Regions from separate parts of the Homo sapiens genome. Here all the other regions are linked to region 2. Evidence: promoter capture Hi-C in 16 types of primary human blood cells and fetal thymus (Javierre and others, 2016). All regions are on one chromosome and are shown on one strand. Each heading gives the region's core, a stretch centred on a gene start or on the middle of the fragment in contact. The rest is flanking DNA. Distances are from core to core; before and after follow the strand shown.

Region 1 (3,374 bases), core at 718-3,217, 750 kb after region 2:
TCCTTGTGTTTACAAGACTAATCCCATTGACTGTTTATTAAGCACCTACTGTGTGCCAAGCGCTTTTACGTGGCTTCTCCCTCAGCCAGCCTTGAGAAGGCTGGAGGTGGTGTCATCACCTCCATTTTACAGACAAAGCAGCTGAGACCCCAGCGAGGGGCGGAGACCTGTCCCACGATCACCCAGCAGGAGTCGTGGCAGAACGGAGCATCAGCCAGACCCTGTTGTGGGCGTTGTCATCAAGGGAGCTTGAATGGAGGGTCTGGTGTCAGATACAGCCGACTCCAGCCCCAGCTCATCCCCCATGATGCTGTGTGACCCACTGGGCACTCTGGTGAGGGAGCTTTCCAGACATCAACAGCCCACTCTGCTTCCCTTTCTGAGTCCCCTGTCCAGCACTGCCTAGTGTTGGAGGGTAGACCAAGGCTGTGCATGATTCACCCCCTCCTTCCATCCTGGAGCTGGCAGTGAATAAAAGCCCGTATTTACAAAGATGAGCTCCAACGTCTGGATTTGTGAGGGGCTGAGAAAGGAGGAAGGGAAGAGTGGGGAGGGGAGCGGAGTGAAATAGACCCATGGCTCAAAGTCATTGCAAGTGGGTTTTGAGGACTGCATAGCAGTTCGCTGTTGAGATTCTTCCTGATGCCATCGCTGGTACCAGCCTCCTGCTACCCTCTCCCTGCGAGTACTCCATCATAGCCCTGCCTTTAAAAGCTTCCTCCAGACATCTGGGCCCTGAGCTATGTTTTTTATTTTTATGTTTTTGAGACAAGGTCTCGCTCTGTAACCCAGGTTGGAGTACAGTGGCGCAATCACGGCACATTGCAGCCTCGACCTCCTGGGCGCCCTGGGCTATGTTAATAAAATAAATAAGCGGCGGGGCGCGGTGGCTCACGCCTGTAATCCCAGCACTTTGGAAGGCCAAGGCGGGCGGATCTCCTGAGGTCGGGAGTTCCAAACCACCCTGACCAACATGGAGAAACCCCGTCTCTACTAAAAATACAAAATTAGCCGGGCGTGGTGGCGCATGCCTGTAATCCCAGCTGCTCGGGAGGCTGAGGCAGGAGAATCGCTTGAACTCGGGAGGTGGAGGTTGCGGCGAGCCGAGATAGCGCCATTGCACTCCAGCCTGGGCAACAAGAGCGAAACTCCGTCTCAAAAAATAATAACAAAATAAGCAATCGTCGCGTCCTTTCTATCCTGGTCTTAGCTTGCGCTCTGCCATAAAACTCCCTCTAGCCGAACCCGGCCCAGCCCTAGAGCAATCCGTTACTTCCGGGGCGCTCAGCCGGCATGCAAACACTCTTGGCTACAGCCCCATCTCCGAGTGCGTTCGGCTATTTCCGGAAACCGTCGGCATCTAGGCTCAAGTCCGCTAAATTCTAGTGCCCGTAGGGGTCGAGATCGTTGGCTGTTTCCGGACGCTCTGGGTTGCCATGGAAACTCCTTCAACCCTGGCTTTCTCCGACTTCTGCTTTTTGCGGCAGGCCCTTTCCCCACTCTACTGCCCCCTGTTTGCTGAGCTTGAGAACGCCTCATTTGTCCCCTGGAACCATCTATGCTTCAGTAATTCCCATAAGCTGGCGGTCGCCTCTGGGTCTAAACTCCCAAGGCCTCCATTGGGCACTGAGCACATTCGGTTATTTCCAGAAACGCTCCGCGGTCTTGGGGATCAGCCTCAGTTGTGCCAGTGCGGCCGTAGAGAGTGTTCGGCCATTTCCGAAAGCGCTCGGGCGTCTCTAAGCCCAGCCGAGCCCAGTCTCGGATCCCTCGCCGACCCGATTGCACTCGGCTACCTCTGGAAACGCTCGGCTGTCTCGGGGGCACCCTCTAGTCCACCAGTCCCGCGGGATTACGTTCGGCTACTTCCGGAAACACTCGGGTGCCCCCTTACCTCAGGCTCCGCCTCGGCCTCGGTTCATCCGCCCGGCTCGAATGCGCTCGGGCATTTCCGCCGGGGGCGGGCCAGGCCGCTCGGAACCGTGGCGGCGGCGGAGGCGGGGATCCCGCGGCTGCGGCGACGGTGGCCGCGGTGGAGCCACGGGGCGGGCTTGGCTTGGTGTGACGGCGGCTGCGGCGGCGGTGGCGGCCGCGACCAGGTGAGTCCTGACTGGCCCTCGTGGCGGGGGCGGCTGGGAGTGTGCTTAAATGCGGGGCGCCCGGGGGCAGTGCCGGGCCCCGGTGGAAGCCAGAACGCAAGCGCCAGGCTGCGTCGGGCCCCGCGGGAACTGGGGGGGCCGCAGGCAAGGGGGGGCCTCGGGCTCGGCTCCGCAGCGGTGCAGCCTCCTTGGGACGGTCGGGGCAGAATGGGGAGAGACTCCCCGCGTCCAAGATACCGGACTGGAGCCGAGGCCCCAAATGAAGGGAGGCCCTGCCTGGAATGGGGCTTCGAATAGTACCGAGGGGCGCCCAGGCATTGTGCGGGGCAGAATGGGGTGCGGGAGGGCCGGGGGTCGAACCCACTTCCGGTCCCCTAGCCGGGTGGCCGGGTCCACGCAGACCCAAGTGCGCGTCTGTGTGAGCGCTCAGGCCCTGCCTTCACCCGCGGAGCCCCCAGCCCTGCCTGCCCCGCCCCTCCCGCCTCCCGGATTCGGGGAGCGCTGCTCCCGGGGCGCGCACACCGGGGCGTGGGGGCGGGCTGGCAGGCAGATCCAGGCGGTTTTCTGGGCATCCCCTCTCGGGGCCTCAGTTTCCCCACCTGTAGAATGAGGGTAACAGAGGCCTAGGAATGGGTAAATTGGGCACCCGAGAATGTGGCGCCCCTCCGCCCTGCTCGGACACCTCTTGGGGTTCCCCGTGACTGAAGGATGCTCAGAGCCTCCACCTGACACTCGGGCCTCTTGGTGGATAGCACCTATCCTTATAGCCACCCTGAATCCTTGACAAGCAACTTAACCCACTGCCAAGGCTTTGCATGTGCCGTTCCGTCTGCCTGTCGCGCCTTCCTATCCGCTGTGATGATCCATTCTCTAGAACAGCACGTCCATCCCCCGACCCTAGCCCTGTCCATCACAGGGCGTCTGAACCCGCAGGGCTAGGCTGGGAATGTGTGCCTATCTCCGCCTCCCCAGGCTGGGACTCCTGGGGAATAATCAATGCCCTGCTGCCGGCAGCCTCCCCTCCTCCTCAGCTGCAGTACCCCCACCTTCTCCTGGCTCCCTGTCCCTGCCTGGGGCTAAGGTTCCTTCTAAGCACCTCCCCATCTGCATTTTGTGCCTACTCTGGGCCCCAGGCTGGAGCTACCTGCCAGCCCACTCACTCCTCCTCTGCAGAGACTGGAGGTCCATTTGCTTGGACTCACCTCGAGGCCTTTGCTTGTGTAGAGGCCTCTTCCTGGACTTTGTTCCCTACCTCTTAGTTCAGCTGGCCTGACC
Region 2 (3,211 bases), core at 203-2,702:
TAGTGATCTCTCCTGGTAGGGTGGGAGGACAGAAACAGGGGGCGGGTCAGCATGTGGCCATGCTGGGGCCCTGCTCCACTCTGGGACAGAACCTCCCCCTTACCCCAACCTCCAGCCCTGGTCTCCCTGCCCCCACCCCCTCTTCCATACCTGACTCACCCCTCCCCGGCCCTCTCCCTTCTCCCTTTCTCACCCTCAAGCTCCTCCACTTTCTTTTGTCCTTGGGCCTTCTCTGCATCCAGGGAAGCCATTAGGGCCATCTAAGAAGAGTTAGAATCTGGGGTTTTGGCCTGGGGAGTTTGGCTGCTGCCCCTGGGACCTGGGCCTCCTCCCTAGGTCCTGGGGACAGAGGGGCTTAAATGCAAACCCCTTTCAGGTTTTCTTCCAACCCTCTCTGCACCATGGTCTCCAACCTTAAAGAACAGCCACAACCACACACTCTCCCAGGGCCACCCATAAGCATGTGGGTCCTCAAAATGGGAGTTTTGAGGCCACCCCACGTGGAAACTTGGAGGCTATCGATAACCAAAGTTTAGTGGACATTTCCAGATTGCCTGAGCAATGGCCCAAGAAAAGTTAGAGGGCCCTACCAAATCCAGAATGCAGTGGGATTTCCCCGCCCAAGTGACATGCCCAGCGAGAGTTTCAAGATCCCCCATATCAGGACCCAGGTGAATATTTCAGTTTCTTAGGGATGAAGTGAAAATTTCAAAAGCCCCCTTTTTCAGGGTCTGGTGAGGTCCCCCTTCAACCCTGAATAGGGATTTCTACTCCCCCAGGACTGGTGCCCACGAGGAGTTTCAAGGCCCCCGACACCAGTGCCCTGGAAAGAATTTATAAATTCACCTAAGTCCCAGGGGGATACTGAGGTCCCCGATTTGGGGGATCTGGAGAGTTTTAACACCCTGCCCCTACACCAGTGCCCTGGACTGGGTTAGGGGCCCACAAACCCTGGTAGGGGAACCTAGGTCCCTTGATGTGGGGGCCCAGGAGCAGTTTCAGGACCTCCCCTGCATCTCCCTGGAGACCCACCCTGGGTCAGATTTCTGGGGAGAGATTCTTGTCCCTCCCACCGCCTAGTACTAGGCCATCCAAAGGAGTTGAGGAGCTTACCACAGTGTGGTTGCAGGTGGCGGCCTGGGCCTCCACATCCTGAAAGCCCTTCTGGGCCTCGGTCAGCTCTTGTTGCAGGAGATGGGTGACATTGCGACACTCCATCACTGCCCGAAGGCCGTCCCGGCAGGCCTCGCTGTTGGCCTTGATGGTGAAGATAATCAAGGGCACCCCCAGAATCACGATGATCAGGAGCACCAGAATTCCTATCCCCAGCAGAAGCTTACAGCGCTTATCCCCGTCTTCCATGGGCACTCTGCAATAGTCATACGAAGTAGATGCCATCCAGATCTCCCCTTTAGAGTCTGGCCTGGAGTTAGGGGAGGGTGCTGGAATCTTCTACGGGCCACCCCTTTATTAGCATAGGAAACGTCCTGACCAATAGCAAGTTCCAGGAAGTGCTCTGACCAGCAGCTCTTGCATGAGGCACCTACAGGCAGAGGATTAATTAGGTTTTCAGTTTCAGTTTCCCAGAAAGGAGGTGGGCTTTTTTTTCACCCTGCTTTAAAAGCCCTTGGGCCCTTCCCAGCTGGGTGCCAGCCAACTGTGGCTGCCTGGGACACTCCATCTTAAGTCCCTGTGCCTCTGCTGTGTGTTACTGAGTGCCTAGGCCGTGCCAGCCTGTATTCATCTGTACTATGACCTGAAGAGGCAGAGGCCATCACTGTTGGTCCGGTCTCCACCTGGGGAAACTGAGGTTGCACAGTTGCGTGGTGGAGTGAGGGCAGGGCCTGGGTCTGGGGGCGGGGCCTGGGTCTGACCCCAGGGACTGGTTTTTGTGTTCAGGTGTCTCTGTGGTGACGAGCAGGGCTTCATCCAGTGCCTCTGTCCCCACCGAGGGGACTATGGGAGACATGGAGGGTGTGTGAGCAACAGGTGAGACTGGAGCCAGCTGAAAACTGGGAGACCGACCCAGCCAACAAACAATGTCGGTCTCTGTCTTGGCACCTGCAGGAAACAAGCTCCTACTTCCAGAAAAAGTGCTCCTGGGACTCCAGGATACCAGGTAAACTCTCTGAGCCTGTTTCTTCATCTGCAAAGGGGAATAACAGGGCCAGCCTCAGACACTGTCCATGTGGCCAAGAGAGCCAGGGCTTCCTACAGGAAATCAGGCCCATTATCGGCACCCAACTGCTGGGCATGACCGCTGAAAGGGGACTGCATGTTTTTCTTGTGGCTTCTTCAGCCACATCCTGACCACAGCCCAGATTCTGTTAGGTCTGCCATTTCCATGTTTTTTTTTCTTTTCAGCAGGGCCAGACAGTAGGCGAGGTCAAGTCCAGAGCCCAGGCCTCCCAGAAGGCCTGGGGAACTCCCCCCAGGCCCTGACTCCAACATCCCTCAGAAGGACCCCATTAAAGCCACTTAGAGCCAGGCATGGTGGTACATGCCTGTGGTCCCAGGCTGAGGCTGGGAGGCTGAGGCAGGAGGATCACTCGAGCCCAGGAGTTTGAGGCTGCAGCGAGCTATGATTGTGCCACGGCACTCAAGCCTGGGTGATAGAGTGGGATCCCATCTCTTAAACCAATAAACAAAAAAATCACTTAGAACCAAGAACCAATTAACAAGCTGTGGGAGATGATCTTGCTGAAAATTCTGAGGGTGAACTTGTCCCAGGAGGAGGGACCTACCAGCCTGGCCAGGACTCCAGGTGCAAAGACACGACCTTTGCCTGACTTATTTGACTAAGCTGACTTATTTGAGCAGCACTGTTCTGGCCTGCTAACTTTAGGGTTAGTTTGGGACCAGGTCGGAAATCACAATTGCATGAATTGCACATTGGAGGCCAGGGTGGTGCACCTCTGGGCAAATGAATTTCCTCTCTTAGCATTGATTTCCCCAGCTGTAAAATGTGGATAATAATAGATTGATGTCCTCTCTAAATTTTGCAGCTGTAAACAGTCCCAGCCCTGCAAACCGAAAGTTTGTTGCTCTTCCCTTTAAAATTACTGTAGGGACCAGCCCCACAGGGTCAGTGGGTCTCTCCCTGTGTGCGGCGACGAGAGAGTGTAGAAATAAAGACACAAGACGAAGAGATAAAAGAAAAGACAGCTGGGCCCGGGGGACCACTACCAGCAATGCGCGGAGACTGGTAGTG
Region 3 (3,318 bases), core at 581-3,080, 530 kb after region 2:
GGCCTTTATTATTATTATTTATTTATTTATTTTGAGATGGAGTTGCACTCTGTAGCCCAGGCTGGAGTGCAATGGCACGATCTCGGCTCATTGCAATCTCTGCCTCCTGGGGTCAAGTGATTCTCCTGCCTCAGCCTCCCAAGTAGCTGGGATTACAGGCATGTGCCACCACGCCCAGCTAATTTTTGTGTTTTTAGTAGAAACAGGGTTTCACCATGTTGGTCAGACTGGTCTCAAACTCCTGACCTCAGGTGATCTGCCTGGCTCGGCCTCCCAAAGTGCTAGGATTACAGGCGTGAGCCACCATGCCTGGCCTTTATTAGTATTTTTTAAGAGAGGTTCCTTCACCCAGGCTGGCTGGAGTGCAGTGGCGCTATCATACCTCACTGCACCCTCCAACTTCTGGGCTCAAGTGATTCTCTTGAATGGGAGGATGAGCATGCCACCACGCCCAGCTAATGTTTTTATCTTCTGTCGAGATGGGGTCTCATAATGTTGCCCAGGCTGCTTTCAAACACCTGGCCTCAAGCGATCCTCCCACCTTAGCCTTCCAAAGGGTTGGGATCACAGGCATGTGCCACTGCGACCAGCCAGGATAATAATCTTTCATGTGATTTTCCGACTTTAAGCCCCCTGCACCCAGAGACCTTTCTGTCTCATGCCTGAAGGGAAGGAACTGGCCACGGAAAAACCTGGGAAATTCCTGGGGGAACTCCCTGAGGCAAGACTGCGCCTGGCAATTTGTAAGAAGGGGGCTGGTGCGACCTGAGCAGAGAGCTAATGGGAGGGTGAGGGAAGCCAAGGGAGATGGGGTGGGAGGTGGGAGGAGTCTTGCGGGACAATGGGAACCCAGGGGAGGCGTTAGAGCAGGGGAGGTGCATCGCGCACTGGGATTTAGGTCCCAGCAAGGTCGCTGGGGGGATGCCTTTTAGGGAATGGACTCTGTGGTCAACTACTCCTACCTGAACTGCCCCCAAAGCATTTGCTTTTCCCTCTCCACAGTCAGGACCAGTGTAACCTTAGACCCCTAATACTGCCATTTTTACTGTTGAGAACACCGAGAAGTAGTAAATGCAGAAAATCTAAAGTATAGTGCCTAAGACAAATTGGCGCCTCAAACCTAATTTCTAAATAAAATTAATAAATAATATTGCAGAAGTGGGGAGCAGGTCAGCAATCCAGGAAGAGGCACTGGCAGGAGCAAGAGACGGAATTTGAGCCTACTCGCGGTTATGAGCCTACTCGCGGTTACATTTTGGCCAAACTCAATTCCTGGTCTCTCTGAGCCTCGGTTTCCCTACCTGGACTGCGCGGTGTGTGTTAATTTCTCTGCCCCATTTATCTCCCCTCTCCTAGCCCCGCCCCAGCGTCACCAGTGGGACGCAGAGACTCAGGACTAGGAAAGCACTTTTAAAGCGTTAAGGGATTGCGAAGAGCTACGGAGAGGCTTCCTCAGGGCTATACTGGGTCCACCTCCCCTCATGGACCGCGGGCGCGCTCTGGCGGCCGGGCCGCTCCAGGCTGAAGCCGCCGGACCACGTGTGTAGTCGCAGCTGCCATCTTTCATCCGGGCATCGGCCATCTTGGTAAAGGCAATGTTCTAGATTTTCGCCTCTGCCCGCCCCTCCTGGTTCATCAACATATTAAATGAGCGTAGGGAATGAGGGCGTATTAAGTGTCCTCTTTTTGAAGAGACAAAGAAGTGGCTGACTACCCTGGCTTGGGTCCGAGGCCCAGCCATCTTTTTCTTTACCAAAATGGCGGCGGTACTGAGGCGCAATGAGTGCGCGCCGCCAGGAGCTCAGCGCGCAGGCCCCATGATGACGTCACGGAGGCGCGACCGGGCCGGCGCTGGGGTAAGAAGGTAGGAGCGTCTGCGGCGCGGGCGGAACCCGGGTTCGGGGAGCAGAGGCGCGGGGCGGGGGCTGCTTGGCCTGGGACCATCCCCTGGGAAGGCTGGAGGAGGGGTGCTGGGAGGCAGGAGCACTTCTGGCGTCCAGTCTGAACCGCACCTAGTTGGGGGCGATGCCCATTTCCAGACTAGACGATTGAAGCCCGACGCGACAGCATGTTCGAGGCCACCTGGCCCCGGACTGCCCCTAGGCAGCTTCTGGTCTCGAGAGGGACAGAGTTGGGCGCGGACTCCCCCGGCCTCTTGTAGGGGGATTAGTGGTGGGGGACTTCAAAAGGGATAGCCGGGAGGGCTGCTTAGAGGAGGCATTGTTGAATTTTGTATTCTGTTATTTTACCTTCACATCCGTGGGGTCTTAATCCCCATGGGTCTTGATTCGCTTCTAAGTGTGCCCCTCGCCCAGCCTGAGCCACTCCCTGGGTACCGCCTGGGCTCCCAGCTCCTGCCATCTGGGGAGTCCACCTCCTCACTAACCCCAGAGGGCTTGTGTGACCCATAGATTGGGCTTCCCGGCTCTAACGCCCTCCACACCTTCCCATCTCCCTGGAATACAAATCGCCCCCTTTTCCAGCCTACCTCCTGCATCCCGCGTGCAGGCTGCGCTCTCCCCCACTCATTCAGACTTTTCCTTAGATGTCTCCTTTAGGAAGCCCTTTGACCCAGGCTGGGTCAGAAGCCCTCTCCGGGCTTCCCCGGCGCCCTGCGTGTCCTTATTAGGACTCTGATTGCATGTGTTGGCTCTTCTCTGGGAGTCCCATGCAGGCAGAAAGCTCATTTGTGCCACCTCTTTCCCCAGCATCGCACACGTATTAGGTGCCCAGTACATATTTATTGAATGACGTGTGCAAGTGAGTGAGTGTTTACTACACAGAGAAAAGTGTCTGTATTTCCAGCTTGGGCTGTCATAACTAATACCACAGACTGGGTGGCTTAAACAGCAGAAATTGCCAGGCACTGTGGCTCACACCTGTAATCCAGGCACTTTGAGAGGCCGAGGCAAGCGGATCACTTGAGGTCAAGAGTTTGAGACCAGCCTGGCCAACATAGTGAAACCCCGTCTCTACTAAAAATACAAAAATCAGATAGGCATGGTGGCACATGCCAACATGGTGAAACCCCATCTCTATAAAAATACAAAAATTAGCCGGGCGTGGTGGCAGGTGCCTGTAATCCTAGCTGCTTGGGAGGCTGAAACAGGAGAATTGCTTGAACCGGGTGGGTGGAGGTTGCAGTGAGCCGAGATTGTGCCACTGCATTCCAGCCTGGGTGAAAGAGCAAAACTCCGTCTCAAAACAAAAAAAAGCCCCAACGTGGAAACAGCCCAAATGTCTAGCTGTGGACAATGGATAAACAAAATGTGGCGTATCCATGCAGTGGAGGAATATTCAGCCATAAAAAGGAACGAA

The links. The method cuts DNA at HindIII sites, captures the fragments that hold promoters and counts their contacts. A CHiCAGO score of 5 or more calls a contact.
Region 1: a contact is called between the fragment with the promoter of PIK3R2 here and the fragment with the promoter of BST2 in region 2, in 5 of 17 cell types (naive CD8 T cells, non-activated CD4 T cells, naive B cells and 2 more). The highest score is 8.0, in naive CD8 T cells.
Region 3: a contact is called between the fragment with the promoter of CCDC124 here and the fragment with the promoter of BST2 in region 2, in 12 of 17 cell types (non-activated CD4 T cells, naive CD4 T cells, neutrophils and 9 more). The highest score is 14.5, in non-activated CD4 T cells.

The regions. Positions count from the first base shown.
Region 1 is chr19:18,151,196-18,154,569 of GRCh38, forward strand. PIK3R2 (phosphoinositide-3-kinase regulatory subunit 2) reads left to right here and starts at 1,968. Exons shown (of 16, transcript NM_005027.4): 1 at 1,968-2,099. It overlaps MAST3 (microtubule associated serine/threonine kinase 3), which reads left to right. Exons shown (of 28, transcript NM_001393504.1): 28 at 1-492. RefSeq lists enhancers at 719-798, 1,341-2,233, 1,539-1,818 and silencers at 1,929-2,308, 2,619-2,838. The HindIII fragment of the contact is 8,629 bases long and covers 713-3,374 here.
Region 2 is chr19:17,404,178-17,407,388 of GRCh38, forward strand. It overlaps BST2 (bone marrow stromal cell antigen 2), which reads right to left and starts at 1,453. Exons shown (of 5, transcript NM_004335.4): 1 at 1,114-1,453; 2 at 194-260; 3 at 1-12. The coding sequence starts at 1,398. BISPR (BST2 interferon stimulated positive regulator) reads left to right here and starts at 1,509. Exons shown (of 4, transcript NR_130766.1): 1 at 1,509-1,594; 2 at 1,900-2,119. It also overlaps a transcript of MVB12A not described here. RefSeq lists enhancers at 632-1,370, 1,355-1,414, 1,485-1,864, 2,055-2,114, 2,165-2,214 and 2 more. The HindIII fragment of the contact is 7,369 bases long and covers 1,334-3,211 here.
Region 3 is chr19:17,931,185-17,934,502 of GRCh38, forward strand. CCDC124 (coiled-coil domain containing 124) reads left to right here and starts at 1,831. Exons shown (of 5, transcript NM_001136203.2): 1 at 1,831-1,864. RefSeq lists enhancers at 909-1,447, 1,594-1,653, 1,674-1,863 and a silencer at 1,944-1,993. The HindIII fragment of the contact is 21,651 bases long and covers 1-3,318 here.